Regions from separate parts of the Homo sapiens genome. Here regions 2, 3, 4, 5, 6 and 7 are each linked to region 1. Evidence: promoter capture Hi-C in 16 types of primary human blood cells and fetal thymus (Javierre and others, 2016). All regions are on one chromosome and are shown on one strand. Each heading gives the region's core, a stretch centred on a gene start or on the middle of the fragment in contact. The rest is flanking DNA. Distances are from core to core; before and after follow the strand shown. Region 1 holds the start of SPEF2 (sperm flagellar 2). Region 2 overlaps PRLR (prolactin receptor). Region 3 has its middle 9.8 kb from the start of PRLR. Region 4 has its middle 38 kb from the start of PRLR. Region 5 overlaps CAPSL-DT (CAPSL divergent transcript). Region 6 has its middle 84 kb from the start of PRLR. Region 7 has its middle 37 kb from the start of CAPSL.

Region 1 (4,109 bases), core at 907-3,406:
TGAATGGAAAGCAGAATACTCCATTAGAACGGGGCATCTCTGCTAGCTTCCAGATCTACACTTCAGGAGCACAGACGCCAGGAATTTTCTATCCATAGCCTAAATGTTGTTAAAATTCTTACTTAGTCTTCAGCCCTTTTATGTTTATCCTCCACCTCTCAAAACCTAAATTCCCAAAACTAATTAAAATTATAATGGCATCTACTGTTTTTATTTTATGTATCTTTATTAATTTCATTTATTTCTCCTAAAAGTATTTCAAAATGTTGCAATAGAGTCCTGGGGACTTCAGCAAAGGGTGTTTTTTGTTTGTTTGTTTGTTTTGTTTTTTGTTTGTTTTTTGAGACAGAGTCTTTCTGTGTTGCCCAGACTGGAGTGCAGTGGCGCGATCTCGGCTCACTGCAATCTCTGCCTCCTGGGTTCAAGCGATTCTCCTGCCTCAGCCTCCCAAGTAGCTGGGACTACAGGCACCCGCCACGACGTCCGGCTAATGTATTTTTAGTAGAGACAGGATTTCACTATGTTGGCCAGGCTGGTCTCGAACTCCTGACCTCATGATCTGCCCACCTCGGCCTCCCAAAGGGCTGGCATTACAGGCGTGAGCCACCGCACCCGGCCCGGGTGTGGTTTTTACTAATAAAATAAATGAACTAAATTAAACTAAGCAATATGTAACTGCTTTTCTTTTAGAAGAGTACAACTTAAGGGCATGATATTTTATTTTGGCTCCTATGGTGAGACAGGAATAAGAAACAATAAATGCTAAATATTGTCCTCAGTCCATCATATTTTAGCAAATAAACAGTTGGAGACACAATGGGATAATCGTAGAATACCAGGAAAGAATTTATTGCAGTTCACAGGGAGTGTGTAGATGGTTATTTGACAAAGAAAGAGTCTGAGGTTTATGCCTCAAGAAATGCAACAGGAGATGCTCCGTGCTAAAGATCCTCATGCTGAGAGTATTAATAACTACTTTGCACCCACAGAAACACTACCGATCTAGCAACTTCTGTAGATAAGCTAAGGTTGAACTGGCACCACTGCCTCTCTGGTAGCAAGCTGGTGTTAAGCAAGTTCTTCTGGGAAAATGGACTGAAATGACTTGCCCTGAAAACCTCTTCCCTTAAGCAAAAAAAGAAAAAAAGACAAACAAAACCAACTGAAAAATGAACTCCTGAAGAATTACAGGGCAGTCAAGGAAGCTGCCAGCATGTAAAATTGTCTCTGTGGTTGTCAGACTTGGAAACTTTGGGTGGCAACTGCATGGTTAGGATAAAATTAGGTTGGTGAATAAGGTCAGCTTTGGGCAAGAGCCAATAGTGACCAGAAATAGCTAGTTTGTGATTTGGGGCTTAAAATTTACTAAAATTTGTAAATGTTAACATATTCTACATTAACTTATTTTTCACCCACCCTCCCCTGCTGGTCAGTTAAGTATGGAAAGCATTATTAGGTCCATTTTATAGAGAAGGAAACACATTCAGAGAAGGTATTGTAACTTGTCCAGTGGCTTCATATTTCATCGACTAGCCACCACACCATGCTTCTGCTTCTGGTGATGTGAAGGAGGCATCGTTGGGGTCAGACTACAAAGTCCAGCAAAGTTCCCTCTCCACAGAAGCAAAGGAGACCTTCCTAAACCCTCTGATTGCCTAGAACCACATCACAAAGTCAGAATGCCTGCGGGTTGGGCCCACCGTGACAAGGGTAACTCGAGAGCGGCAGAGTGGGGACGTGACAAGGCCTTGCCCTGGCTGGGGTGAGCTGTAGGGAGGTGGCGGGACGGACCTGGGGCACCGCCGAGCCGAGTTGCTCACTGTGGGATGCTGCCGGCTACGCAGGTGCCCCACCTGTGCAGCTCGCGCCCTGCCCGCCACCTTCCCTGAGTGCGCTGCGCTGCGCTGCAGGCTCTGCGCCCCGCTAGCCCCTCAGACGCTCGCCCCTGGCCGTGGTCACTCACTCACGGTCCGGGACACCTTCAACTCCTTGTTGAGCCACTGGCACAGGATCTCCGACATGGTTCAGCCGGTGCCTCAGACCGCAGGCGGGGGCTTAGAAACTCGCCAGGAACCAAGCCTGCCAGCCCGCGTCCTCCTGTAGCCAAGGGCAACCCTTTGCTATGGAAGCGTATCCAGGCTGGAACTAGGCGAAAGGCCTTAGAGAAGAGGGGACGCTAGGGCTCAGCCGCAGAGGACAGAAAATCGTGTTTCGCCACCTGCTGGCGGGTAAGACCTGAGCGTGCGCCAGCGCAGGAGGAAGCCGTTGGGGGCCTGTGAGAGAAGTTAGGGAGCAGTGGGTGTGGGGAGAGGCGAGGCGGGAACACTTAGGGACACAGCAGGAGCTTCTTAGGTGAGCAGAAAGTAAAACCAGAGTCTCCGCAGGGCTCCGTGGCTCACGCAAATAATCCTACCACTTTGTGGAGGGGGTGGCGCTCGACTGAGCCTGGGAGTTCAAGACCAGCCTGGGCAAGGTAGCAGAAACCGTTTTTTTTTCTGTAAGAAATTAGGCGGCCGTGGTGGCGTGCGCCTGTGGTCCCACCAGCTCAGGATGCTGACGTGGAAGGATCAACCCAGGAGGCGGAGTTTACAGTGAACCGAGATCGAGCCACTGCACTCCAGCCTGGGCAACAAAATGAGACTCTGTCTCAAAAAAGAAGAAGAAAGAAGAAAGAATAACAAGAAGGAGAAGGAGAGGGAGAGGAAGAGGAGGAGGAGAAGAGGAAGAACAGGAGGAAAAGAAGAAAGAGAAGGAGAAGAAGGAGAACAAGGAGAAGGAGGAGAACAAGGAGAGATCAAAGAAGAGGAAGAAGAAGAAAAAAGAAGAGGAAGAAAAAGAAGAAGGGTATTTGGGGTATCCATCACCTTGAGTATTTATCATTTATATACGTTGGTAACATTTCAAATCTTCTCTTCTAGCTATTTTGAAATATACAATGTATCATTGCTAACTATAGTCACCCCAGTTGCTAGCTAACATTAGACCCTATTTCTTCCATCTAACTATAAGTTTGTACCCATTCACCAACCTCTCTTCATTTCCCCTTCCCACCCTCACATCCTTTCCAGTCTCTGGTACTCATAATTTTGTTCTCTATCTCCAGGGGATCAACTTTTTTAGCTACCACATATGAGTAAAACATGCAGTATTTGTCTTTCTGTTGCCTGGCCTATTTCATTGAACATAATGGCCTCCAGTTCATCCATGTTGCTGCAAATGACCTGTTTTCATTCTTTTCCATGGACAAATGGTATTCCGTTATGTATATATACCATTCTTTCTTTTTCCATTTGTTCGCTGATGGACACTTAGATTTATTCCATATCTTGGCTATTTTGAATAGTTCTGTGATAAACATGTGAGTGCAGGTATCCCTTTGATATACTGACTTCTTTTCCTTTGGATAGATACACTGTAGTGGAACTGCTGGATTTTATGGCAGTTCTGTTTTTAGTTTTTTGAGAAACCTCCATACTGCCTTCCATAGTGGTCATACTAATTTACATCCCCACCAACAGTATGAGTTCCCTTTTCTCCACATCTTCTCCAGCATCTGTTGTTTTTTGTCTTTTTAATAATAACCATTCTAACTGGGGTAAGATGGTATTTTATTGTGGTTTTGATATGCATTTGATAATTAGAGATGATGAATTTTTTCATATACCTGTTGGCCATTTGTACCTCTTCTTTTGAGAAATGTCTATCCGTGTCCTTTGCACACTTTTTAGTGGGATTGTTTGTTTTTTTAGTGTTGAGTTGTTTGAGTTTCTTGTATGTTGTGGATATGAGTCCCTTGTCAGATTAATAGTTTGCAAATATTTTCTTCCATTCAATGGGTTGTCTCTTCACTCCGTTGATTGTTTCATGTATTGTACAGAAGCTTTTTAGTTTAATATAGCCCCCAGTTGTCTATTTTTGTTTTAGTTGTCTGTGCTTTTGAGGTCTTATTCATAACATTTTTGCCTAGGCCAATGTCCTGAAGTGTTTTCCCTATGTTTTCTTCTAGTAGTTTTATAGGTTTAGGTCTAACATTTAAGTCTTTAATCCATCTTGAGTTGATATTTGTGTATGTGGTGAGAAATACTGTTCAGCTCTACTCTTCTGCATAT
Region 2 (4,109 bases), core at 1,046-3,545, 500 kb after region 1:
GATCCAACTCTAACTTCAATTCTGGCTCCCAGAGAAGTCTGCCATCATGGTTATTTGTCAAGAACGAGAGGTCAGAAATGCCAAAAATAGGAGTTAGGGTGAGTATTCTGTCAAAAATTCGTACAAGGAACTTCTTTTATAAAATAAATAAATTAAGGAATTTGGCCTGGATGTCAGTGCCTGCAAAAGGGACTTCAATATTCCCCAGTAGATTACTATAAGGATATCTAAACTCTGGACTAGGGGTTATAGACTACAGATAAAACTGTAAGCCTCCTGCCTCCTACAGTCATAGCATTTCGGAGTTGAAAGTCCCTTTTCTGGTCTTGTAGCCCTGATCCAAGTTGCTAACCCCTCTAGGATTTTACGTTGTCTCAGCATAAGCATGCACCATGAGGAGGAGCTCACCTCCTACCAGAGTGGCCCATTTCATCCTTGGCCGTAGCAATCTATTGACTGGTGGGCCTTAAAATTAAAAAGCTACTTTGCCTTGTAATATGACCCATTTGTTTTAGCTCTGCCCAGCCATGGGCAATCGGAATGTCCGGTAAAGAACTCCTCTACCATTTTACTGAACCCAAATTTGCCTTAATGTAATTTCCACCAGTTGGAAGGTCTCTCTTCTTGTGCCTTTGGATACATTTTTTTGATGACTATAGCAGCCCTGAATGATTTCAGAGACAGAGCACAAAGCTCCTGAGAGCTAGTACATTGTCCTTCCCAGTCTTAACTTCTCCTTGTCTTCTATATCATCTATATCTTTCCCTTTTCCTCTGACATCTTCCCCCAGCTCTGTTATAATTCTTTCAGAAATTAAACACAAATTCCTACATGGAAGGCAGAGGAATTCAGTGAAAAGAGCAGAGGAACTTGGTCCAATCCCTGACAAGTTTCCACGTTTAAAGCCTCATAAATACTATGATTTCCCTGATGGGGGTGGGAGGGTAGAATGACAGACTATAAGTGAGTATTTATTATAAGCGTCAATGTACTATAAAGCTACTGAATACTTTAACAGTAAATTCTAAAAGACCTCAAGCAGCTTAGCTCCTTGTTTTACATCAGAACACATTAAAGAGAGAAGCAGCCTGACTTTTCCAAGGACCACGGGACCAGTTAGAGTTAGAAACAGAACTTAGATTTTCTGACTCAAAATCCCTTGCTCCCTCCACTGTCTCTCTGTTAAACAATGAAATCAATAACATCATCCAGGCAAAGGCCCTAGAATAGCACCCAACATGTATTAGGTGCCCAATTATTATAGGCTGAATAAATATGTGAGTGGACAAATCAGTACATGAATAACTAGGACTCATTTTCAATGATGACATTATACAAGTTCCCTCCAAATGTCACTTATGTTTTTAGTCATTCTTTAATTAGCTCCCTATTAAGAAGCTTGGTTCTCAAAGTGTACTTATGAAGATTAAATGAAATAAAGCATTAAAGTGTTTAGAAACAATGTCTGGCAGCCAATAAATGTTAACTAATTGCTGTCTTTCTGTTTTTTAGCCATTTTTAAAAGTAAGATTATGCTGATGCTGTCAGGAGTCTCTACTCTGAAAATCACTTTACAATCCACTAACGAAAGGAATTCTGGAATTGCAAAAGGATTACTACTATTTGTCAATTCCTATCCTTCACCTGTAACTAGGCCACCCACACCTACCCCTTGTAGTTGGCACCCATCAAGACACAAACAAAATATTGGATTCTTTCGCTTCCTCATCTGGGCTTGTGTTTACTCCACCCCTGACCTTTGGGCACTGTCTCCCATTCCCAGTCAACACTTGCCAATTGGACCTGACAGTTGACTTGACTTTACCCTATTTATCTTGCTCCCTCTGTCTCCATCTCAATCTCAATCAAGATTTTGTAATTCCCCTTTGGTTCCTCCACTCTCAGCCACCCTGGTACCTCTACTCCTAAACAAGGCCCATGCCTTTGACTCAAGTGGATGTGCTTGCTTCTGCTCAAGTTCAGCCTGCCCCAAAAGAGTGATTCCCAAGTGCTTTATTGGATAAACTTCCTTTTCATTCAAGAGCTCCACATGCATGTCTATAAATTGCCATATGTAATCTCTATCAATTGCCAGAAATCTTGCAGATTTCTTTCTGAATCTGAGTTTATCTGACAATTTGTCAGGACTAAAGACTAACATTGGCCTAACGTCAGTTTATCTGACAATTTGTCAGGACAAAAGACTAACCTTGGGCTAATGTCAGTAAACAAGAAAGAGCTCAGGAACAGAAAACCAAACACCGCATGTTCTCACTTATAAGTGGGAGCTGAACGATGAGAACACATGGACACATAGGGCAGGAGGTTGGGGGAACAACACATATTGGGGCCTATCAGGGCGTGGGGAGGGAGAGCATCGGGAAGAATAGCTAATGGATGTTGGGCTTAATACCTGGGTGATGGGTTGATCTGTGCGCAAACCACCATGGCACATGTTTACCTATGTAACAAACCTGCACACCCTGAGCATGTACCCCAGGACTTAAAAGTTGAAGAAAAAAAAACAAGAAAGAACTTCAGTAAATTCATCAATTAGGTTTATACCTGTGGTTCTGGTGTGGACAAGAAGTATTTATTATCTTTTTAATCTCCATGTCTTGCTAAATTCATCAATTAGGATGATATCTGTGATTCTAGTGTGACAAGAAATATTTATTGTCTTTTTAATCTCCTCATGTCTTGTGATGAATTACCATGTATTATTTTCTCATTTGTTAATTGTGTATCAACTCCCACTTTATTCCACCCAGAATGTAAGTTTCTTCAGAGCATGGACTTGACCTGTTTATATCCACAGCTCTATCATCAGCACCTAAAATACTATTTGGCAAATAGTAGGCAACCAATTGTTATTGGTTGAATACTGAGTGAATGAAAGAATAAATGAATGACCCAGAAGCAGAATGGAATTGTGGTTGGAGCACAGCCTTTGGCATCAAAGAGATCTCGGTTCAAGTTTTGGATATGCAACTTCTTAGCTATGAGTCTTCTCTGAATTTCAGTTTCTTCATCAATAAAGTAGGGGTAATAATAGTGCCTACCTCATAGATTTTGGGGAGCATTAAATAAGATAATGCCTGTAAGGTTCTTAGCATGATAGCTGGCATATTTTAAGAACTTAGTAAATGTTGTGTATTATTTTCGGTGAAAGTCCTCAAATGTTGAAGCTTATCAGAGGTAATTGAATTATTTAATATGGCTGGTAGTGATGATTGTACTAAAGACAAATTAGTACAATTAGTCTGTCAGCAAGATTTGATTTAAAGAGTCAGGCTGACAAAAAAAATGTATTGGTCACACCCACCATATTTAAAGCACTATACTAGGCTTTCAGGAGGGGGTGGGATGCAAGGATGGATATGACACAGCCCCTTCCCTCTAGGAACGTAGAACTGAGAAGATTTACTATGTGTGCACTGTACCATGCTGAAGATACAGAAATGTGAGGCAGTGTTACCTCCCACATCATCCAACTTACTCTCCATGCTCTGCAGAAAATTCTTCTAAAACACTCAGCCTTTGCTTTGAACCCCTATAATGACAAGAAACTCACTGACTTATGAAACAGATGATTCTCTTTGGGAACAGTAGTCACCACTAGAATGATCTTAAAATTAGCACAAATCTACCCCCCCATGGTTTTTACACATTGATCAAACTTCTGCCTTCTGGGCACCTCTAGAATAAATTCATTTTGCACTCTTCTATCAGAGGTCAGCAAAGTAATGCCTGCAGGCCAGATCCAGCCTGTTTATTTATATAAATAAAGTTTTATTGGAACACAGCCAAGCTTATTCATGTACATGTTGTCTACGGCTGCTTTTGTACTACAGTAACAGAGTACTTGGAACATTTCAGCCTACAAAGCTGAAAATATTTACTATTTGGCTCTTGAAGAAAAACTCTCTCAACTTCTGCTTTATGTGACAGAATTTGGAGATAAACAACATGCTTTTTCCTAAAGTGAGGAGCAGGGAAATGAGCACAGTACTCCAAGTGGGAGCTAATGTAGAATTCACAGAACTAAGTAGTACTATCACCTCCCCTGTTCTGGATGCCATACTTCAAATAATGTGACCAGAGATCAG
Region 3 (4,109 bases), core at 980-3,479, 380 kb after region 1:
CCAAAATATCTAAGAGGAGAGAACACTTCTAAACTGATTTTATGGGGCCAGCATTACCCTTATACCAAAGCCAGATAAAATGATAAGAAAACTACAGGCTAATATCCCTGATGAATATAGATGAAAAAATCCTCAACAAAACACTAGTGAAACAAATTCAGCAGCATATTAAAAGGACCATACACCATGACCAAGTGAAATTTATCCCTGGGATGCAAGGATGGTACAACATTCACAAAGCAATGGATGTGATACACCACATTAACAGACTGAAGGATGAAAATCACATGATCATCTCAACAGATGCAGAAAAGGCATTTGACAAAATCCTTCACCCTTTCATAACAAAAAGTCTCAACAAACTAGGAATAGAAGAAAAACATCTCAACACAATAAAAGCCATATATGAAAAGCCCAAAGCTAGCATCATTCTTAATTTGTGAAAAACTGAAATATTTTTCTCTAACATCAGAAAACAGGATGAGGATGCCCACTCTTACAACTTTTATTCAACGTAGTATTAAAAGTTCTAGCCAGAAAATTTGGCATGAAAAAGAAATAAAAAGCATCCAAATCAGAAAGGAAAAAGTAAAATCGTCACTATTTGCAACAGATACTCAACACCACTAATCATCAGAGAAAGGCAAATAAACACCCTAATGAGATATCACCTCGTATCTGTTAGGACAGCTATTATTTAAAAAATTCAAAAGATAACAATGGTGATGATGTAGATTAATTGAAATGCTTGTACAATGTTGACAGGAATGTAAACTGGTGTGACCGCTATGGGAAACTGTATGGAAGCTCTTTAAAAAATTAAAAATAGAACTACCATATGATCCCACAATCATACTACTGGGTATATAGCCAAAAGAATTGACATCAGGATCTCAAAGAGATATTAACAATCCCATGTTCCTTGTGCATGATTCACAATAGCCGAGATATGGAAACAACCTAAATGTCCCTCAATGGATGAATAAAGAAAACGTGGCATATATATACAATGGAATACTGTTCGGCCTTGAAAAAAGAAAAAAGAAGAAGAAAATCCTGCCATATGTGACAATATGGATGAACCTGGAGGATTTTATGCTAAGTGAAATAAGCCAGTCACAGAAGGACAAATAATGCATGATCACATTTATATGAGGTTTTCTAAAATATTCAAACTCACAGGAGCTGAGAGTACAATGGTGATTGCCAGAGGCTGTTGGGACAAAAGAAAGGGGAATTTTGTTCAACAGGTAGAAAGTTTCAGTTATGAAAGATGAATAAGTTCTAGAGATCTGCTGTACAACATTGTGCCTATATTTAACAGTACTGTATTGTACACTTACAATTTTGTTAAGAGGGACGATCTCATGTTAAATGTTCTTATTACAATTAAAAAAAAACAAAGAATATTCACTACATATCAGAGACCTCATTGGAAATTTACCTGACAGTGTGTTCTCAGTCATATGATTCTTCAGTGTTACAATCTGGTAAGTGGAATTTGTGACATCAGCCTGCCCTTATATCTCCCCTAACAAGTTAGAGTTGGAGACGCCCATAAATTTGAGTCAGTTTCCCTGGGTGCCAATTGGAGACTTCAGGAAGAACATTCACTTTACAGTCACTTGGGGTTTAGGAACTCTGGCACTAGAGCAGCACTTCTCAAACTTTTACATACATGTAATCACCTGGAGTTCTTGTTAAAAATCAGATTCTGATCCAGTGACTCTGAGGTGGAGCCAGGTGTTGGTTCTCATTTCCAACAAACTCTCAGGTGGTGCTTCTGGATCCAGCTCTGGGTTGTGAAGCACTAGACCACTGGCCTTTGAACCCTTGTGTCCGTCAAGTGCTGGGCTAGCTGCATAAGAGTCTTCTGGGAAAACATATCAAATACAATTGCCTAGGCTCTTCTTCCCCAGGGACACATATTGAATAGGCCTGCAATGGGGCCTTGGAATTTGCATTTTAATGGCCACCTCATGTTATTCTGATGCACAGCTATGTTTGAGAATTATGGCTCTAAAGCAAAGCTCTCCAAGAAAGAAGTACATACCTAGGTATACAAGATGATCCAGTGAGTTGAAGTATGAAAATAATATAGTAGTTATTTGGGGTATTTTTTCTAAGAAAGAAACTAATCTTTACTGGTATTTAGATTGACAATAGTGCCTTCACTGAGTTCTCAAATTAGCTCAACACAAGTTCTGGAAACTACACAAGATAATCTCCAGAATCAAAAAGAGTTCAGCAAACACACAGGGGTTGCCATGGTACCTCCACTGCTTGATTGCCATTTATGTGCTACAGGTTTTCATCAATGCAGTTTATTTTATAAAAGCAAGACCTTTAGAATATGCAACTTGACAAAATAGGGAGTGAGTATGAAAATGTCTGGTACCACACAGAAGTTTCTTGTTTAATTCATGACGAAGTAGTAAAAAAGTTGTTGGATTTAAAAATGAGTTGTCCATTTCCTTTTACAAAACGATAATTGTTCCCAAAGTGTAAATCTCAAATGCATGATGCTGAGTGAAAGAATGCTACATACTGTACAATTCTACTTACATGGCAGCCTGGAAAAGGGAAACTATAAGGATAGAGAACAGATTAATGGTTGCCAGGGGACAGGGTAGGGACAGGGTTTGGCTACGCAGAAGCATGAGCGTATTTTGAGGGGCCGGGCTGCGGGGCGGTGGGGTGTGCGGGAGTAATGAAACCATTCTACACCTACATTGTGATGGTTATGTGACTTTTTGCATTTGTCAAAGCTCCTAGAGATATACACTAATGAGTATGAATTTTATAGCAAGTTACACCCTAAAAACATTCACTTAAAAAAAAGTAAGTTTTGCTGAACAAAAAGAAAATTTCTACCACCTTTCATGCAGTATATTTTTCAGCCATAATAGGTGTAAAACTAAAAACTGAAAATAAACTAAACTTAGAACCAGATCTGCATATCACTGTGTCTCAAAGTGTTAAGCCAACATCTTTTTTTTAAAAAAAAGCATACTTAATCACATTATTCTCATTAAAATTTTGATAATTAATAATTTCAGAACTAAATGGTTTATACCATTAAAAATAAAATTATTTATTTATTATTTTAAATAATTTTGACTTTTATTTTAGATTCGGGAGTACGTGTGCAGGTTTGTTACATGGATGTATTGCATGACACTGAGGTTTGGGGTATGAATGATCACGTCATCCAATGAGCGCAGTACCGAATAGGTAGTTTTCAGTCCTTGCCCCGCTCCTTCCCTTCCCTTCTAGAATTCCTCATTGTCTATTGTTCCTATCTTTACGTCCATGCATACTCAAAGTTTAGCTCCCACTTATAATAGAGAACATGAGGTATTTGGTTTTCTGTTCCTGCATTAATTTGCTTAGGATAATGGCCTCCAGCTGCATCCATCTTACTGCCAAGTACATGATTTGGGGTTTTTATGGCTGTGTAGTATTCCATGGTCAAATTTTTGTTTCATCTTATTTCATTCTTTTAAAATTTCTACTTTCATTCATTTATAATACAGTAGTACATATATATAATTTATGACTAAAAATACATATGTATTTGGAAAGGCATGCTAAAAATGATTTTACTGCTAAGATGATAAACAGAAAACTTTGGAGGTCACTTCTCTAGAAAATAACTCTTCAAAATTTAATGTACGTAGGAACTACCTAGGGATCTTGTTAAAATATAAAGTCTGATGCAGCAGGAAGTCTCTCACCAGATCAAATGCTGGCACCTTGATCTTGGACTTCCCAGTCTCCAGGACTGTGAGAAATAAATTTATGTTCTTTATAAATTAAAGAAAAAATACAAAGTCTGATTCACAAAGTAGGGATGGGGTCTGAGATCTTGCATTTCTAATAAGATTATGATTAATCTAATAAGTTGAAATCATTTGTTTTGGTTTAAACTAATTACCAAGTCAATTCATTCTAATACCTTCCGGGTTCACTCATAGACTAGGCCTAGGGTTAAAATGATAATTAGTATGATGCCAGTGCACCTGGCCCTAAGACTATACTTTGAATAGCAGGACTCAGACCACAGTAGCCCGAAGACATCTATGCAGCTATTATAGAGACTAACAACT
Region 4 (4,109 bases), core at 1,178-3,677, 350 kb after region 1:
TCTGATTTTCCTCCCTTGAACGTGCAGCCTGATTAAGTGACTCACTTCTAACAAATAAGGTATGGCAGAAGAGATGACCCGTGCCTTCTGTGTCAAAAGAGTGGCTTCTGTCTGCTGTTTCTCTTGGATCCCTCACTTTGGGGAGAGCCAGGCCCATGTTGGGTGGACACTCAAGCTGCCCAGTGGACAGGCCTATGTAGGGAGTAAAATGAGACATCTCATTGACAACCAGTCACAACTGACCAGCTCGTGTGAACGAGCCACCCTGGAAGCACATCCTCTGGTCTGGTGAGCCTTCAGATGACTGCATCACTGGAGATATCATGACTCGACATTATGAGAGAGATCCTGAGCCAGAACTCCTCAGTTAACAGATTCCCAAATTTCTGCACACAGAAATTGCAATAATAAATTTTGGAATGATTTGTTACACAGCATTAGATAAACTAATGTAGATGGTAAGGTTAGCCAAAAAGTGGTTGAAACAACCTAAGACCTGACATATGGACTTGGCTATGGGATTGGCAAGGAATAAATAAACATAAAATATTATATGGTGTAAAACTTAGTGGCTTATTGAACAAAGAAGTTGAGGAAAAGAAATAAACCAAGATGGCTCTAAGAAAGTATGAGAATGGTGGTGGCCATGATAGAAATATCAGTAGACAGTGGATAGGAAAAATGGCTTTAGGAAAAATTATCTTTCAATATAATGACTGTAGAGAACTACACTATAAATTAAGCTATAGTGAGAATGGCAGAATGTTGAAATTAGAAAATTGCTTAGAGATTGGCTAGTTCCATTATCTGATTTTACAGAGAAAACCAAGGCAATCACATAGGACCCTGCATTTAGAAGGGCCCTGTGCTTGGTTTAATGCTCTGCTCTTGCTCTCTTGAAATTCTTAATCATTTTTGAACAAGGGTCTCTGTATTTTTATTCTTCACTGGACCCACAAATTAAGTAGCTAGTCTTGTGCATACTCCAGACTTTCCATGTTGATTCTGACTTACTTGATGAGTGTGAGATTATCTGTTCCTCATATTAATAGAATCCTAAGATTGGGGAGGGGTGAAGGAGGAGAATGGTTTTGTTCTTACCACATTGCATTGCTTGTCACTACACTGAGTGTCTTCCTATTAGTAGCCATTTTCTAGGCGATGAATCATCATGGTGGCAATTGGTCTGTGACCCAGATCTTCAAGGTGCTGATAAGTGACATACTGAATTCTCAAAGGAGAGTTCTGTTGTAAGGAAATGGAGGCTGTCCTTTTGTGGAGATGCAGTCCCATGAACACTGAATCTGCTAACTGTAGTATTACATAATATTATGTGGTATGTGTCAGGCCTCTGAGCCCAAGCTAAGCCATCATATCCCCTGTGACCTGCACGTTTACATCCACATGGCCTGAAGCAACTGAAGATCCACAAAAGAAGTGAAAATAGCCTTAACTGATGACATTCCACCATTGTGATTTGTCTCTGCCCCACCCTCACTGATCAATGTACTTTGTAATCTCTGCCACCCTTAAGAAGGTTCTTTATAATCTCCCCCACCCTTAAGAAGGTTCTCTGTAAGGTTCTTTATAATCTCCCCCACCCTTAAGAAGGTTCTCTGTAATTCTCCCCACCCTTGAGAACGCACTTTGTGAGATCCACCCCCAGCCTGCAAAACATTGCTCCTAACTCCACCGCTTATCCCAAAACCTATAAGAACTAATGATAATCCCACCACCCTTGCTGACTGTCTTTTTGGACTCAGCCTGCCTGCACCCAGGTGCAATAAACAGACTTGTTGCTCACACAAAGCCTGTTTGGTGGTCTCTTCACGTGGACGCATGAGACAGTACGGTCCTAAAGAAACTCATGTCACACTAGTTTCTTGAGACTGATATGTAGCTGAAGCAGAAGGATCACTTGAGCCCAGGAGATCAAGACCAGCTGGGTAACATAGCAAGACTCCACCTCTACAAAAAAAAATTTAAAAATTAGCTTGGCAGCCAGGTGCGGTGGCTCAGGTCTGTAATCCCAGCACTTTGGGAGGCTGAGGCTGGCAGATCAAGAGGTCAGGAGATCGAGAGCATCCTGGCTAACGTGGTGAAATCCCGTCTGTACTAAAAATACAAAAAGTAGCCAGGCGTGGTGGCAGGTGCCTGTAGTCCCAGCTACTCGGGAGGCTGAGGCAGGAGAATGGCGTGACCCGGGAGACAGAGCTTGCAGTGAGCCAAGATCATGCCACTGCACTCCAGCCTGGGCGAGAGAGTGAGACTCTGTCTCTAAAAAAAAAAAAAAGAAAAAAAAAAAATTGGCCTGGCATAGTGGCACACACCTGTAGTGCCAGCTACTTGGGAGGCTGAGGCAGGAGAATTCCTGAGGCCCAGGAGGTTGAGGCAGCAGTGAGCTATAATCAGGCCACTGCACTCCAAGCCAGGTGACAGAGCAAGACCCTGTCTCAAAAAATGAAATAAAGAAAGAAAAGAAAATGGGGCACATCCACAGAGGTGTTTTTGTGTTTGAGTAATTAGCTCTTATAATTAAATAATTTAGGTGGCAGGAGGGTTTTTCTTTTGACTACTCGGTATTGTGTGTTACTTCCTACTCTATTAGCAAGAAAGGAATCCTATTTTGCTCAAAAAGCATGCTCTATTGCAGTTTCATAAGTGTTAGAGCAGGGCGTCCTAACCTTGGTCTGTGGTTAGAAGGGGTTGATAATATCCCCTGAAATTACATGCAAAATGTGGGTTGGTTGCGGGTGTCTGGAGAAAAATACCTGAGTATTTCTCTGCTTGGAATGCTGGCCCCCTCCTTTCTGCCTGTCTCATTCCTACCTGGTTGTGAAGGCCCAACTCAAATCCCACCTCCTTCTAGAAACCTTCTCCCAGCTGCTGCTCTCCCCAACTCCTCCTTGTTCTTGGAAAACTCTCCTACCTTTAGCCTCCTGGGGATTTTGTCACCTACATTATTTGTCTGTCCTTTGGTACACTTTGGTCCATTTCCCCAGTATACTGGGAGACTTCGGAGGAGAAGTAAAATTGGCTTACCCTACATACACTACATAATACACTATATGAGATACTGAGAAGCCTTTAGTGAGTACTTAGTGAGGCTGAGGCTCTTGAGAATGTCTCAGTCTTAGAGAATCTCTCCTGGAACACTCCAAGGGATCTGAAAAACAACTCCAAATATCTCCCCATTCACCTTGCTCCCACCAAGCTGACCTCATTAGGTTCCACTTCATGTTTATTCATGTCTCATTGAATGTTTCACATTCATTAACCCCACTTACATTCACTTTGCATCTGTGTTGACAAAGACTGTGTGGGATCTTAATTTACGGAACACAATAATGTGTGATAAAAATTTTCTGGAGTTTTAAATGACACTTCTCTGGTGTCCTTGAATAATAAATAAATCTCCTGAATATGCTTTAATATGCTCCAAATAAATCAGGTATTCATTATAAGAATATGTCACACTCTCCTTCAGTTAAATTGTAATGAAAGTACTGGGGATATATAATGTGAATTAATAGGACTTGCTTTAGAAATGTACAGCCCACTTAGTGCATGTGTTTGTGAGTGTGTGCATACTTCACGCGTGGATTTATGTATGTGTGAGATCTTGTTTCTTCACCTCTATTATAGCACCTGTCAAAAACTTCTTTGTATTAGAATTATTTACACACTTATTCGTCCTTCTCCTTTAAATCAGAGGTTCCCTAGGGAGGGAACGAAAGATCCTTTTCCTGAATCTTTCCACTGAGTCTAGAGCATGCAATGTTTTGCATATGAAGGGTCACAATCAATGTTAGCTTACTTTGAAAGGGTGTATTCATAATGTTATGAAATGTTAAGGGGATACTCGTTTGAGCACTGCAGGTTTTGGCAAGAAAGCAACATCAGGCATATGCTTGCTTAAACTGCTTCTTCCAGATGGATAGTGCATATCAGAGAGGTTTCTGCCTATCAGAAGAAACAGCATTTCTTCCCACTTGGGAAATGGCCAGTCTTACCAGCACGAATAATTTTAACACAGAGAAGCCTGGAAGGCCTCATCAGGTAAAACTTGCTTTCCTTGATGAATGGCCAGGCAAGTCTTTCCAAATGAT
Region 5 (4,109 bases), core at 1,008-3,507, 320 kb before region 1:
TGGGGCTTACCCAAAGTGAAATGGAAGAACTGGTGAAGCTTATCTTCATGTGTTCACTATTTCACTTCTTGTTTCCTAGGCTGTTTTCTCCTGGCTTTCCCCCATACCTCCACAAACCCCTGTCATGTGGGCTGCACCAAGCAAAATCATAGGGGTGGAATTGCCTGAGGCCTTGAGGGCTCAATCCTAGCCCAGTGTGTCCAGGAGGTGGCACATGGAGTCAAAAGAGATTATTCTCTAGCTTTAAAATTTAATGTCTGCCTGCTGAGTTTTGGTCTTACTTGGAGCCTGTTACTTTTGTTGGGAAAGGGAGCATGGAAGGGTGCTCTTTCTCACTTTTGGAATAGGAATGTCTGTCTTATGCCGTATCACCATTGTATCTTAGAAGTTGTTACCTTATTTTGATTTTACAGGTTCACAGATGAGACTCTGGATTTTGGACTACTGAGTTGATGCTGAAACCAGTTAAGACTTTGGAATTAGAGGGTTGGAATGAATGTATTTGTATGTGATAAGGACATGAGTTTTTGGAGGGCAGGGACAGAATGTTGTGGCTTGACTGTGATTTTCTTTTATCCGACCATCCCTGGATTTAGGTCTAGTAATCATCGGCTGATTGCCATATTGTTTTTATCAATGATCTAGTATAAAACAGGTTGATCCAACCAAATTCAGATTCCTTTAAAAAGATGGTTTTTAAAGACAATGTTTGAGATTTTTTTCGGACCTAAGAAGGGCCCCTCCCAGCTGTCTCTTTTCCCAGTTTCCTCTGGCAAGTTAGTCACCCTACAGTTTCACTTGTATCTCCAATGAATCTACCCATCGCCTACCAACTGCCTTTCACAGCTAAGTCCACCGTTTCTTTGTTTTTTTCTGTTTGAGTTCTCTTAGGCTGGAACCACTCCATAGTTTTTGTTGAAGATAGAGCCAATTCCTTTGCAAAGTCTATCAGTCAGGGTTCCTCATTAAAACAGAGCAGTAAGGTACCTTTTTTTTTCAAGGAATTGGCATAAATGATTTTGGAATTTTAAGAGTTGGCAATCTGAAATCTGTAGAGCAGGCCAGCAGGCTGGAAACTCTTGGGTGGGAACTGATATTCCAGTCCTGAGGCAGAATATCTTCAAAGAAACTTATTGCAGATATTAATCACGTCTAAAAAATAACATAAGAGCAACACATAGATTAGGTTTTGATTTAATAACTAGGTACAATGGCATATGTCAAAAAACACAGTTTTATACAACTCTTCTATAGCATACTGGGAATATACTAACTCTTCCCCAGAGTGGAGGTCCTTGGGTGATGTTCACTCTTATTCTTGATATTCTGTAACATAAATACTGTGAAGTAATATATTAGATTTTAAGGAGATAAAGTGAGAAGAATACGATAGTATTCTACACACACAAATTCATAACAAAATACAAGGTAAATACTCAAAACATTTACAATCCTTTTGCAACTGATCATATGGTGATAGCTAGCATTTGTATTTCATATACCTTTGCCCTCAGCAAGTACCGCAATTGACTTTTTGCCTGATTGGGAAGGGGACCCAAATATTCATTCTTGAAGAGTTGGGGTTATTAGTTTTCCTTACTGAATTGGGTTATTGTAGATTTTTTGTTGACTTTAATAAAAGGGCATGGGCATAATTAGTGATGTGTTAACAGAGTTCCTTTATTCCAGGCTTACTCTTCTTTTTAATGACCTATAACAGTAAACCAACGAAATGATTGCAGCTGTGACAAGTGCTACAAAGAAGATGAAAACATAGTATTCGCTACTCTTTTTCCAACTTTTATTTTATGTTCTGGGGTATATGTGCAGGTTTGTTACACAGGTAAATGTGTGCCATGGTGGTTTGCTGCACAGATCCTCCCATCACCTAGGTATTGAGCCCAGCATCCATTAGCTATTCTTCCTGATCCTCTCCCTCCTCTCCCCACACCCTGTGACAGGCCCCAGTGTGTGTTGTTCCCCTCCGAGTGTTCATGTGTTCTTATTATTCAGCTCCTATTTATAAGTGAGAACATGTAGTATTTGGTTTTCTGTTCCTGCATTAGTTTGCTGAGGATGGCTTCCAGCTCCATCCGTGTCCCTGCAAATCACATGATTTTGTTCCTTTTAAGGCTTACTCTTTACATCAATGTGTAGTAGCAACTCAATTTCCCTTAGTAATCAGGTCTTGCGTGATAAATCCAGTCCAACATTTCAGTCTCCCTAAGCCTTTAGATACCTTCCTCTTCAGTGTCCCAAGGTAATTCTGGTATTTCAGCTTCATTTAGCGTAGGCCACCCTTTGTTTCATCCTTAACTCAACCAAACCCATCGAGCTGCAACTCTATATTGAGAATTTGTGCTTTGTGGGCCTGTATCAATAAATTCACCTTGAGTCAACTTTATGTTCCTTCTACCATTATTTCACACTATTAACTTACATTCTCACATGTATTCACCAGATTTCTGTCTGTATAAATTGAAAAAATACGCATTACTTTTGGAATGTAGTATGTCTCCCATTGGTTCGCAATTTTAATCTCTCTTTCAAGCCTGTTGGGACTAGAGTCTTATTTATAGATATAGATATAGATAGATATAGATATAGATAGATATAGATATAGATATAGATATAGATGATATAGTTCTACAAGCCAAGAGGTTTGGTGGAAGTAGGTTCTGAGGATAATCAGCAGTGTCTTCCAGTTAAAATACCTCAGAGGTGCTAGTACACTTTCCTTTGAAAAATCAGGATGAACCTTCTCAGACATGAATAGCAGGGTTGCTCCTACTGGCAAAGAAGATGCAGGAGAATTTAGAGGTTAAGTGTCCTCAGCTTCATCAGGATCTACCCTACAGGTTTCATTCCGATTTTCAGAATCTCATTCCTTCCTAATCAATTCCCTCAGTTTAGCAGAAGATACTTTGCCTGGTTGGGAATTCAATTTGCACTGTAATTCTGCCACTCTCAGGATGAGACTCCAGATTTGATTTTCTGAAACCTCAGGCTGATGACAATGGGAGATAAGTACGTTCCTCCAGGAAGACATAGAAGGTTTCAGATCATTTATGTGGAGCTTGAACTTGGAATTTCAAGCCCTGAGTTCATCATTTTTCTTTACTTTGTCTACCACAGTTACAAGCAGTCATCCTCATTACATTTATTAGTTTGACTAAAATATTTTAAGCTATCATGATTACCTAGAGATTTGCCATTTATGAATATTTGATTAGGAATCCAGTAGTAATATTTTACAAATCTTTTTACCGTATTACACCATAGACTATCATTGTCTTCTTTACCACTGGAAAGAGTACTTATGCCTTAAAATATAATCAATATTTTATATTGATTGTCAGAAACCCAATACCACAAACCCAGATCCAGTTTTTTGAACTGGTAAAACCCTTGGAATTACACCAGTTGCTAGCAGTGGAAACAAGCAAAAGCATTGCTTAAGTACTCCAGAGATTTTGTTCTTTTTACTTTATTTGACACAACCTGGAGGCAGACTATTGAGGGCTTGCACGGTGGCTCCATCATGCTGTCCGTTGTCCCAATTTTCCTGTTTCTTTTTTATCTTTTCTTAAATTATTGCACCAAACTTACTCTCCAGTAGGTGGCTTTCAAGAAATACTTCATATTTAAATGCCCATGCCCTCATATTTGCTTCTGCATTCACAGATGAAATTAAGTTTCTTCTTAAAAGTTTCAAATGCGTGATATCTTGTGGGTTAAACCACTGAAAAGAAAACATTAGACATCTGAGGTTGCCCTGGAAGAACCACAGTTCTAATTGCTTAATTCTGGGACAATTCTTCAGACAATTCAGATAAAAGGATGAAATAGCTACTATGTATACTCCCTGCAGATATAGCAAAGGACCCAAGCCCTTGTCAAATCCATGAAAGAACTTGCCTAGTAGTCTGCAGAGCTGGGTGCCTGGCATCTATTCCGTTTTGTGAGTTCTTATACTGCAAGGATGTTGCACACAGCCAGGATTATGTTATATACAGAGATGTGTGTGTGTGTGTGTGTGTGTGTGTGTGTGTGTGTGTGTGTGTGTGTCAGAGAGAGAGAGAGAAAGAGAGAGGTGTAAGGTCTGAATC
Region 6 (4,109 bases), core at 668-3,167, 300 kb after region 1:
GGCTTGTCAAATGAATTCTTAGTTTTTCTTGTCAGGCTGTGCTTATGTCTCTCTTGACCTCCTGACCTGTGTAAGTTGTCTAAGGTATTCATTGCTTTGAGCTGTCCCTATAAAAGTATCAACTTGATGCTGGTTCTGTGGTAAATAAGAAATAAGAAAATCAAGTCACTGTCTCCCAAAAAGCAATTCAGTGGCTCAGCTGAATCTCTTCCTCCTGGTGTTTCCATGGAACCGAAGTGGACTGGCTCTGCCAACTTCTTTTGCCTTGATTCCTCACTCTTTCAGCTGATGATAGAATCATTTTTGTCCCCAAAACTCACACAGGCACTAGATTTGGGGTATTGACTATGTTACCAGGGAAAGCCTTCCACTGCCATGTAGTGGGGAGTTTCCTCAGAAAGTATATGAAGGCCAAAGAAAGTAGGGAGGGTCCCTGCAAATCCGCAGCAAGCCTTGCCTAAACAAAGGGAAAAGGAGGGTGCTTGGGGGTCGGGGGGCAGGTAGAGGAGGCCTCAGATACGATTTGATATCCTGTAATCCACGGTAGGTGGCCTCTGAACTCTGCCCTGAAAAATCTGTCATGTTGAGACAGAAAGACACCCTGAGGATGAGCACATGTAGATCTCTGATCTCTAAGTCTCTTGCTGGACGCATCCAAGACAATGTGGAATAAAGTAGCAGTTCAGGAAGTGTGTTTCCATGCACTAGTGAAAGGTGAAAATATGAAATAAACTACCCTGGGTTGGTCTTTCATGCCTACTTTTGTATTTTTTTATTTACTTTTGTCATGTTTTTTGATATATAATTGTTTGAAATTTGTATCCATGCAATGTTCCAGCACTGGGAATTATGAGAATGGTTCTGGACCCTACAAAATCAATTGACATGATTTTTCACTTAGAGCAAGACCACATCTTCTGGGCAGGCCCAGTGGCTCATGCTTGTAATCCCAGCACTTGAGACTAAGACGGGAGGATCACATCAGTCCAGGAGTTCAAGACCAGCAGGGTAACAGAGGGAGAACACCCACTCTCTAAAAAAGACTTTTAAACATTAGCTGGGCATACTGGTGCATGCCTCTAGTCCCAGCTCCTCAGGAGGCTGTGGTGGGAGGATAGCTTGGGCCTGGGTGGTTGAGGCTGCAATGAGCCATGATCGTGCCACTGCACTCCAGTCTGAGCAACAGAGTGAGCCTCTGTCTCAAAAAAAATAAAATAAAATAAAGACAACATCTGATTTTGTTCAGTTCACTTTCACCCTACACTGAGTAAATCTCCAGAAAGAAATCTAAGGACTACGTAATCAGTCAATCCACTCAACCCACAACGCTACTGGAGTACACTCATTAAGCCTCAAGAGACCTGTAAAGAAAAGGTCATCCAAAATGGAGCAAATAACCAACCAGCATGCAGGTATTACTGATAGCTAGTACACGCCAAGTCATTGGGGGACTCTGAACTTTCTCTACACATAGTTTTTAAAAGAAAAGATAGTAAAATATCTCCTTCCTTCATAATGCCAACACACACTAGTATGACAATTTGTTACAGTATCATTCCTATGAGGTAGGGGAAAAGAATGATGACACTCATAAATCTATTGGTTTAGATACAAAATAAATTTTCAATCCATGAGTGTGTTCACTGAGAATATATAAAATAAAATAAAATTTGACTTTCAATTTCTTAACTCACAGTCCTATAGCCAAATAAACTGGACCATCCACATCTACTAAAATCAAATTGGCCGCTACTCCAGATTATTGGCTCTGTGGTAGCCAGCCTGCAACATGGCCCCACTCATTCTTACATCCTGGGATTCATGGACTTGTGCATTTCTCCTCCCACTTTTTACCATGGTTGATCTATGTCACCAATAATAGATGGAAAAAATGATGGTGTATTACTTCCGAAGATAAGTTATGAAAGACCTGTGACTTCTGCCTCATGCCTTTTCTCTTGGATTGCTTATGCTGGGAGACACTAGCTACCATGCTGTGAGGACGCTTAAATTTCTTTATGGAGAGGCCTGTGTGTGAAGAGCAACTGAGGCTAGGAGCCAGTGAGGAGTTGAAGAGTCCAAGTCCAATGGCTGCATGAGTGAGCTTGGAAGTAGATCCTCTAGCCCAGTCAAGCCTTGAGTGCAGTCTTGCCCAATATCTCAATCACGACCTCATGAGAGACCTTGAACCATAAACACCCAACTGAGCTGCTCCATAGTGCCTGACTCAGAAACTATAAGATAAATATGTATTGTTTTCAGCCATTACATTTTGGGGAAATTTGTTATCTGGCGGTAGATAAACTAATACCCTCTCTTTCCTGATCTTAAATTATTTTAAGTTCATGCTGTATCATTGATTTCCTTAAATCTACATACCCCAAAGTAACTGTTTTTGTCTTCTAAAAGTGCAAGGCCAGAAATTTTTTTAACCAACTCAAATAACACGTAAGATTTTATTCCAAGAATATATGCTGGAAAAGACTTCACAGTCCTGTTAGCTATAGAGATTGGTTCACAAGGCTTTTCTTTAAGGATTGGGTCATACACAGACACACAAACATATACACATGACCACAATTCATTAATTTGTTGATACAAATCTTATCAAAATGCTAAACTGGAATTGAGACAAAAATAAATGACAGTGGAAGTCATTTTAAATGTATCATCTGCTAAAATGAATTCATCTCAATAAATTCCTCTTAATGCTTTAATTATTTAAAGTAGAAAAACCTCTACACCTGCCCCTCCAGAGAGTGTTAGAACCTAAAAAATTAAGTGCCTGAACCATCCTTCAGTGCCACTTTTCTCTTTATATGAGAGGCAAACACTGAGCATGACTCATTTGCCCTCATGTCTCCCTGGTAAATCCTCATTGTGGCTAAATAAACTGACAGTACGAGTTTTGTGGTTTCAAATCTGCTCCTCAATTTTGCAATATATTCCTAACATGCAGACAATGCCAAGTTCTGCCTGACTTCAGCTATCCCACAGAAGAAGCATGGCCCTGGGCCTCAAATATTTAATTCCCTGAGCTGTGTGTTAGCTTGAAATCCTCTACTCAACCGAATCCAATTTACCTCCTCTTCTGTCAAAGCAGCTTTTAGGCAGAGGTCGATGACTTGAGAAGTCACCTAGTGAAATCTTTTTCAATTCTATGCTATTTACTGAAAAGAAAATTGGGTATACTTAACTCATTGCAAAGTTCCCTGTAACTTTGTGAAATAATTCTCTAATGAAAATAAATGGCTGTATCACTGAGGAGAAGAAGATAAGAAAAGAAAAACTTATTTCCATGCTTTTTTTGTTGTTGTTGATTAAAAATGTCAGTAACCATAAGTATGTGAGCTAATGCATGTGTTAATTAGCTTTATTTAGCCATTCCACAATGTATACATAGTTCAAAACATCATGTTGTACACCACAAATAAACCAATTTTTATTTGTCAATTTAAAAAATTAAAAATTGGCCAGGCACAGTGGCTCATGCCTATAATCCCAGCACTTTGGAAGGCCAAGGTAGGTGGATCACCTGAGGTCAGGAGCTCGAGACCAACCTGGACAACATAGTGAGACCTCAACTCTACACAAAATTAAAATTAGCAGAGCATGGTGGTGCATGCCTGCAGTTCTAGCTACTTGGGAGGCTGAGGCGGGAGGATCACTTGAGCCCAGGAGATCGAGTCTGCAGTGAGTTGTGATTGTACCATTGCACTCCAGCCTGGATGACAGAGGGAGACCCTGCCTCAAAAATAAAAATAAAATTAAAAAGAAAATGATACCAGTAACTATAATCGTTTAGGTAATTTGTGTTCCATAAGAGTTCTTTACTCACAATTTATTCTTCACAAATGAACCAGTCAATGATGAAGGAAGAGAGGATGACCACATATCTGAGCTGAACCATTAGCATCTAGGACAAAAGATTACATGTCCAATATGCATTAATGATTTCCATATGCAGTGCCTGAAATACTGTGACCAAAGAAAGAAAAAATGCTGATTACTTTCCTTTAACAATCTCTAAGATCTCTAACTCAAGGCAGCAGCCCTCAATGGGTTTATCCTGCAGAGCTTGAACTATTTAAAATTTAGGTTGTTTCAAA
Region 7 (4,109 bases), core at 658-3,157, 280 kb before region 1:
TCAAGGCCAGCCTGTCCAACATGGTGAAAACCCTGTCTCTACTAAAAATAAAAAAATTAGCTGGGCATGGTGGCACATGCCTGTAATCTCAGCTACTCCAGAGGCTGAGACATGAGAATTGCTTGAACCCGGGAGGCAGAGGCTGCAATGAGCTCAGATCATGCCACTGCACTGCACTCCAGCCTAGAGCAAGACTCTGTCTCAAACAAACAAACAAACAAACAAAAATTCCCACCAGCACAAGGAGGTTGGGTGTGACACGGACTAGGATTTCAATAATATTCCAAAGCAGGTTTTCCATCTTGATGCTTCATGGCTTAACACCTCCTCCTCCCAGCACTAAGCTTTGGCTTCATATCGTTGATGTGTAGGACTCTGCCCATGAAAGGCTACTAGAAGCAAAGATAGCCCAGAGGCTGGAAAATAGATAAGAAAACTACAGCTCTCCTTCTGTGTCTTCTGTATCTAGGGCCAGAGATAAAAGCACAGTGACCAGCCTCTGGTTATGGTGCTGGAGACAATGCCCACCCACCTTGCTGCTGGGTGAAATACCTCCTTTTGACTCTGTCCTTAGCTGCACTCATCCCCCAGTTTGCAGACAGGATTGGGTTAATAGTCTTCTTTAAGATCTTATATACTTAATTGGCTCTGGATTTAGGGATTGAACACACTTGCCATATTTTGTATCAATTCACTGTTTAGGTTTTATTTCATACGCTTGGAAGTTGAGATTCGGATATGTATTAATTTAAAACATGTGAAAACCAGTGCTGCTACATAGGCATTATAGTAGTTATTAAGTAACTTGTTGAGATGCTCAACTTTTTCTTGAGGATGGTGTATCCCCGTATTACCAGAAACTAGTTTTGTTTTTGTTTTTGTTTTTTTACTTAATTGCACAATTGCACAAGTTTGATTTTGTATTGGATTTATTATCTCTGCTCATATAGAGGTTGGTTAGGCCAAAGATACCAAGTGTTATGAAGAAATATGTAGACTTATGTAGAAAACCAGAAGAAATTGTGAAGAAATGTATAGAAAAAAATCCATATATTTTTGCAGCCTGTGCCTTGTAGACTGTGGCTAAGGAGAGGTCCCCTATTTCCTGGGGATGATGGGTTTCAAGGCTTTTGCTCTAGAAAGATTCTTGTCTTTGATTCTGGGTATGACTCATGCCTCAGCTTAACTGAGGCTATAGAGTGAGCATGTGATTCTGAGCAAGGACCAGGTTGCAGCTATCAGCTTAGTCTTCTCCAGTGATACTTTGCTTCCTGTCAAATGGGGGCACAGGGCACAGCTATCCAATTTCAGATAACCCATACTTCATAGTGTATTTGGTCACATTTAGTTGCTTCTCTTCTAGCGGTTTGGGTTCTGGGCCCATGAGCAAGGTTCCACCAAGGCCCTTTCACCCTCTGGAAACAAAATCTGCTAATAACCTAATGGTCAAGGGTCACTGCACTCCAATTCTCATTCTCCTTTATGGCTTCTGGCACAGTCACGAATTATGCATTATTTAGCTCTACTCCTTCTAGTAGGAGTGGGAGGAAAAGAGAAGAGACATTTAAAGAAATCATTTGCTAACACTCTTCTGGATATATTTTTTGTTTATTTAACTTACAGATTTTAAAGCTTACTCCGTTTACAATTTAAAAAATAAGCCCTTAGTTCAGAAGGCAAAACACAATAAAAAGTTGCCAAAACATCCCTCAGGAAAACCTCACCTGTTGGGTCTGGTCCTCAGATAGAAAATTAAACAAGCCAAAGAAAAGAGAATGAAATTAGCAACTTTTTATGAAACAAGAATGATGTATGCAAACATTCTGAGAATGAGAGTTTGTCAGAACAAACCACCCATAACAATACTGAATTTGGATTTCTAACTTGATCAAAGGCAAACCCATGCAAGAATGGCCAGAGACTCTGACTCTCTGCTGCTGTGCACATCATACTTGGATTCTATTCACAGTGCAAATGAGAAACCCAGAATGTGGAAGCTATGCAAACTAAACTGTAGACTGAGGCAGAATTCTTTCTGCTGGTCTGTGGGGCTGGTTTTCACAGTGATTTAAACTGTGATAGGATCTTCCCAGGCACAGATGGCACTTTGGAGGACCATGTACTTGTTCTGTATGGTTTGACAGCAGGCATGGAGTCACATTTCATACCGTAATCAAGCTTTTCAAAGGCAGAGCTGGGTGTTCTCCAAGTAGCTGCAGATTGACTTGGCATACATCATGGCTTGCAGGTGTAAATACATCCCATCAATAAATATTTATTGAGATACATGCTTTTTTTCTAGGCCATGGGGACAGAGCAGTGAACTAGAATAATTGCAAGCAAAACCATTGGCTTTCAAACCAAACTAACAACCCACAGTTGTTAAGAGATCAAAGAGGGTAGAGAGGGAGGGAAAGAACAGGCACCCAAATTCCCCTCCCAGAATCTCATTCAGCCTCTGAAGTCAGGACAGTTGGAGCCCTTTCTGTGGCACTGTGTCGGGGAGTGACGTAGTCAATTTCATGGACATAGACAGCCTATCAAGACAATGCAAGGAAAATCCCTCTCTGTATTTGGAGGCAGATAATTGTGTTGGCTCTTTAATTTTCTTGGCCAAAGTTGATTGTCTCACTGAGCCATGAGAGTACAAGTAGGTAACACTTCCATTCTCACTAAACTACCTGCAGATGCAGTCTATGTTGAAGTTTAATCAAGTGGAGAGATAGAATTTACCAGATGTATTCACAGATGGTGTGTGGGGGCCCTTCTACCTCTGCTTCATGAAATTCTATTAACCTTCTCTGAGTAGTATACCTTTTTTGGATTTATGCATATCTGTTTTGTTATTGTTTTTATTTATTATGTTTTTGATATGGAGTCTCGCTGTGTCACCCAGGCTGGAGTGCAGTGGTGCCATCTCGGCTCACTGCAATCTCCATCTCCCAGGTTCAAATGATTCTCCTGTCTCAGCCTCCGAGTAACTGGGATTACAGTCACCTGTCACTATACCCAGCTAATTTTTTGTATTTTTAGGAGAGATGGGGTTTTACCACGTTGGCCAGGCTAGTCTCGAATCCCTCACCTCAGGTGATTTGCCCACCTCGGCCTCCCACAGTGCTGGGATTATAGGCTTGAGCCACCACTCCCGACCATGCATATCTATTTTGAGTACAGAAATGAAGAACCTCATATTTTCCAATTCCCAAACTGGTCAACAGACTTGCTTTCCTGGAGATTATTGATTGTTCTTTTAAATTAAGATCCTATTGAATGAAGCGGTAAAGTTTTAAATCCTAGAAATGCTTATGACTCAAAGGAAAAACAAAAGCATCAGAAGTCTGACAGATTGTCATTTAATGTTATTGAGTTTCGTGTAACTGATCCTTTTGAAAGCCAATGTTTCTCAGCATGATTTTACTCCTCCAAGTCACTTAAATGAAAACTATGTAACTTTGATAGAGATAGCTAGTTCTTTTATTCCGAAAAAATAAAACCCACCTAGTTAACCCCTAAAATTATATGTTCTAAAACAGGTGATGGGTGAGATATGTTGAAAGAAACATAAACAAATGATTGATGGGGGTTCTGAGAACATCGCTGTGTGAGAAGAATTCTTTTTGCCATTTCAGCTGGTGTGGTGACAGGCTGTGGTGAAACAGCTCTTCCTCTCTGAGAACAGCATGACCTTCTTGTTTAATTCTCACACCTGCCTCGCCAAAGCCATATCTTTTCCCCTGAGCAAAGTATAGTGGAAGAACCTCCTCAGGAGTGAAGCCCACTGAAAATATAAGCAACCAACCAGTAGACAAGGTTTTAATATGGACCTTGCAATGACCAGAAAGGTAGAGTTCATCAGGGAAAAAAATCTCAACACGTAATGGCCTTTTTTTTTCTTTTGTATTAGATTTTCTTTTGATTCTTCCTAATGGAATTTATTTATTGTTTCTCTGGGGTATTTCAAAAATCCTAGCAGCCATTGAACATTGTTGATGCCATGTGAGTTTCACCGAAGTCCCTGTGAGCACCATGGGCTTCCAGCTCCATCTCCCAGCACTAGAAGTGTGATACTTAGCTCAAACACTCCAAGGATCACATCCAGCTTTACATTA

The links. Contacts are between HindIII fragments. The CHiCAGO score rates a contact against its expected background, and 5 or more counts as called.
Region 2: a fragment that was not itself captured here is called in contact with the fragment with the promoter of SPEF2 in region 1 in 2 of 17 cell types (monocytes and M1 macrophages); the score reaches 5.5 in monocytes.
Region 3: a fragment that was not itself captured here is called in contact with the fragment with the promoter of SPEF2 in region 1 in 1 of 17 cell types (M2 macrophages); the score reaches 5.2 in M2 macrophages.
Region 4: a contact is called between a fragment that was not itself captured here and the fragment with the promoter of SPEF2 in region 1, in 2 of 17 cell types (monocytes and M1 macrophages). The highest score is 6.3, in monocytes.
Region 5: a contact is called between a fragment that was not itself captured here and the fragment with the promoter of SPEF2 in region 1, in 10 of 17 cell types (non-activated CD4 T cells, activated CD4 T cells, naive CD4 T cells and 7 more). The highest score is 12.3, in non-activated CD4 T cells.
Region 6: a contact is called between a fragment that was not itself captured here and the fragment with the promoter of SPEF2 in region 1, in 1 of 17 cell types (monocytes). The highest score is 9.0, in monocytes.
Region 7: a contact is called between a fragment that was not itself captured here and the fragment with the promoter of SPEF2 in region 1, in 7 of 17 cell types (naive CD8 T cells, total CD8 T cells, non-activated CD4 T cells and 4 more). The highest score is 11.5, in naive CD8 T cells.

What each region holds. Positions count from the first base shown.
Region 1 is chr5:35,615,910-35,620,018 of GRCh38, reverse strand. It overlaps SPEF2 (sperm flagellar 2), which reads right to left and starts at 2,156. Exons shown (of 37, transcript NM_024867.4): 1 at 1,964-2,156. The coding sequence starts at 2,021. RefSeq lists an enhancer at 1,306-2,113. The HindIII fragment of the contact is 5,837 bases long and covers 1-3,882 here.
Region 2 is chr5:35,120,653-35,124,761 of GRCh38, reverse strand. All of the region lies in intron 1 of PRLR (prolactin receptor), which reads left to right. Among named protein-coding and RNA genes, the nearest start is that of AGXT2, 75 kb to the right of the region's middle. The HindIII fragment of the contact is 1,790 bases long and covers 1,401-3,190 here.
Region 3 is chr5:35,238,248-35,242,356 of GRCh38, reverse strand. No RefSeq gene overlaps it. Among named protein-coding and RNA genes, the nearest start is that of PRLR, 9.8 kb to the right of the region's middle. The HindIII fragment of the contact is 4,523 bases long and covers 1-4,109 here.
Region 4 is chr5:35,266,281-35,270,389 of GRCh38, reverse strand. No RefSeq gene overlaps it. Among named protein-coding and RNA genes, the nearest start is that of PRLR, 38 kb to the right of the region's middle. The HindIII fragment of the contact is 4,880 bases long and covers 1-4,109 here.
Region 5 is chr5:35,939,356-35,943,464 of GRCh38, reverse strand. CAPSL-DT (CAPSL divergent transcript) reads right to left here. Exons shown (of 2, transcript NR_104630.1): 2 at 3,472-3,742. Among named protein-coding and RNA genes, the nearest start is that of CAPSL-DT, 2.6 kb to the right of the region's middle. The HindIII fragment of the contact is 4,433 bases long and covers 41-4,109 here.
Region 6 is chr5:35,312,287-35,316,395 of GRCh38, reverse strand. No RefSeq gene overlaps it. Among named protein-coding and RNA genes, the nearest start is that of PRLR, 84 kb to the right of the region's middle. The HindIII fragment of the contact is 4,866 bases long and covers 1-4,109 here.
Region 7 is chr5:35,899,542-35,903,650 of GRCh38, reverse strand. No RefSeq gene overlaps it. Among named protein-coding and RNA genes, the nearest start is that of CAPSL, 37 kb to the left of the region's middle. The HindIII fragment of the contact is 546 bases long and covers 1,635-2,180 here.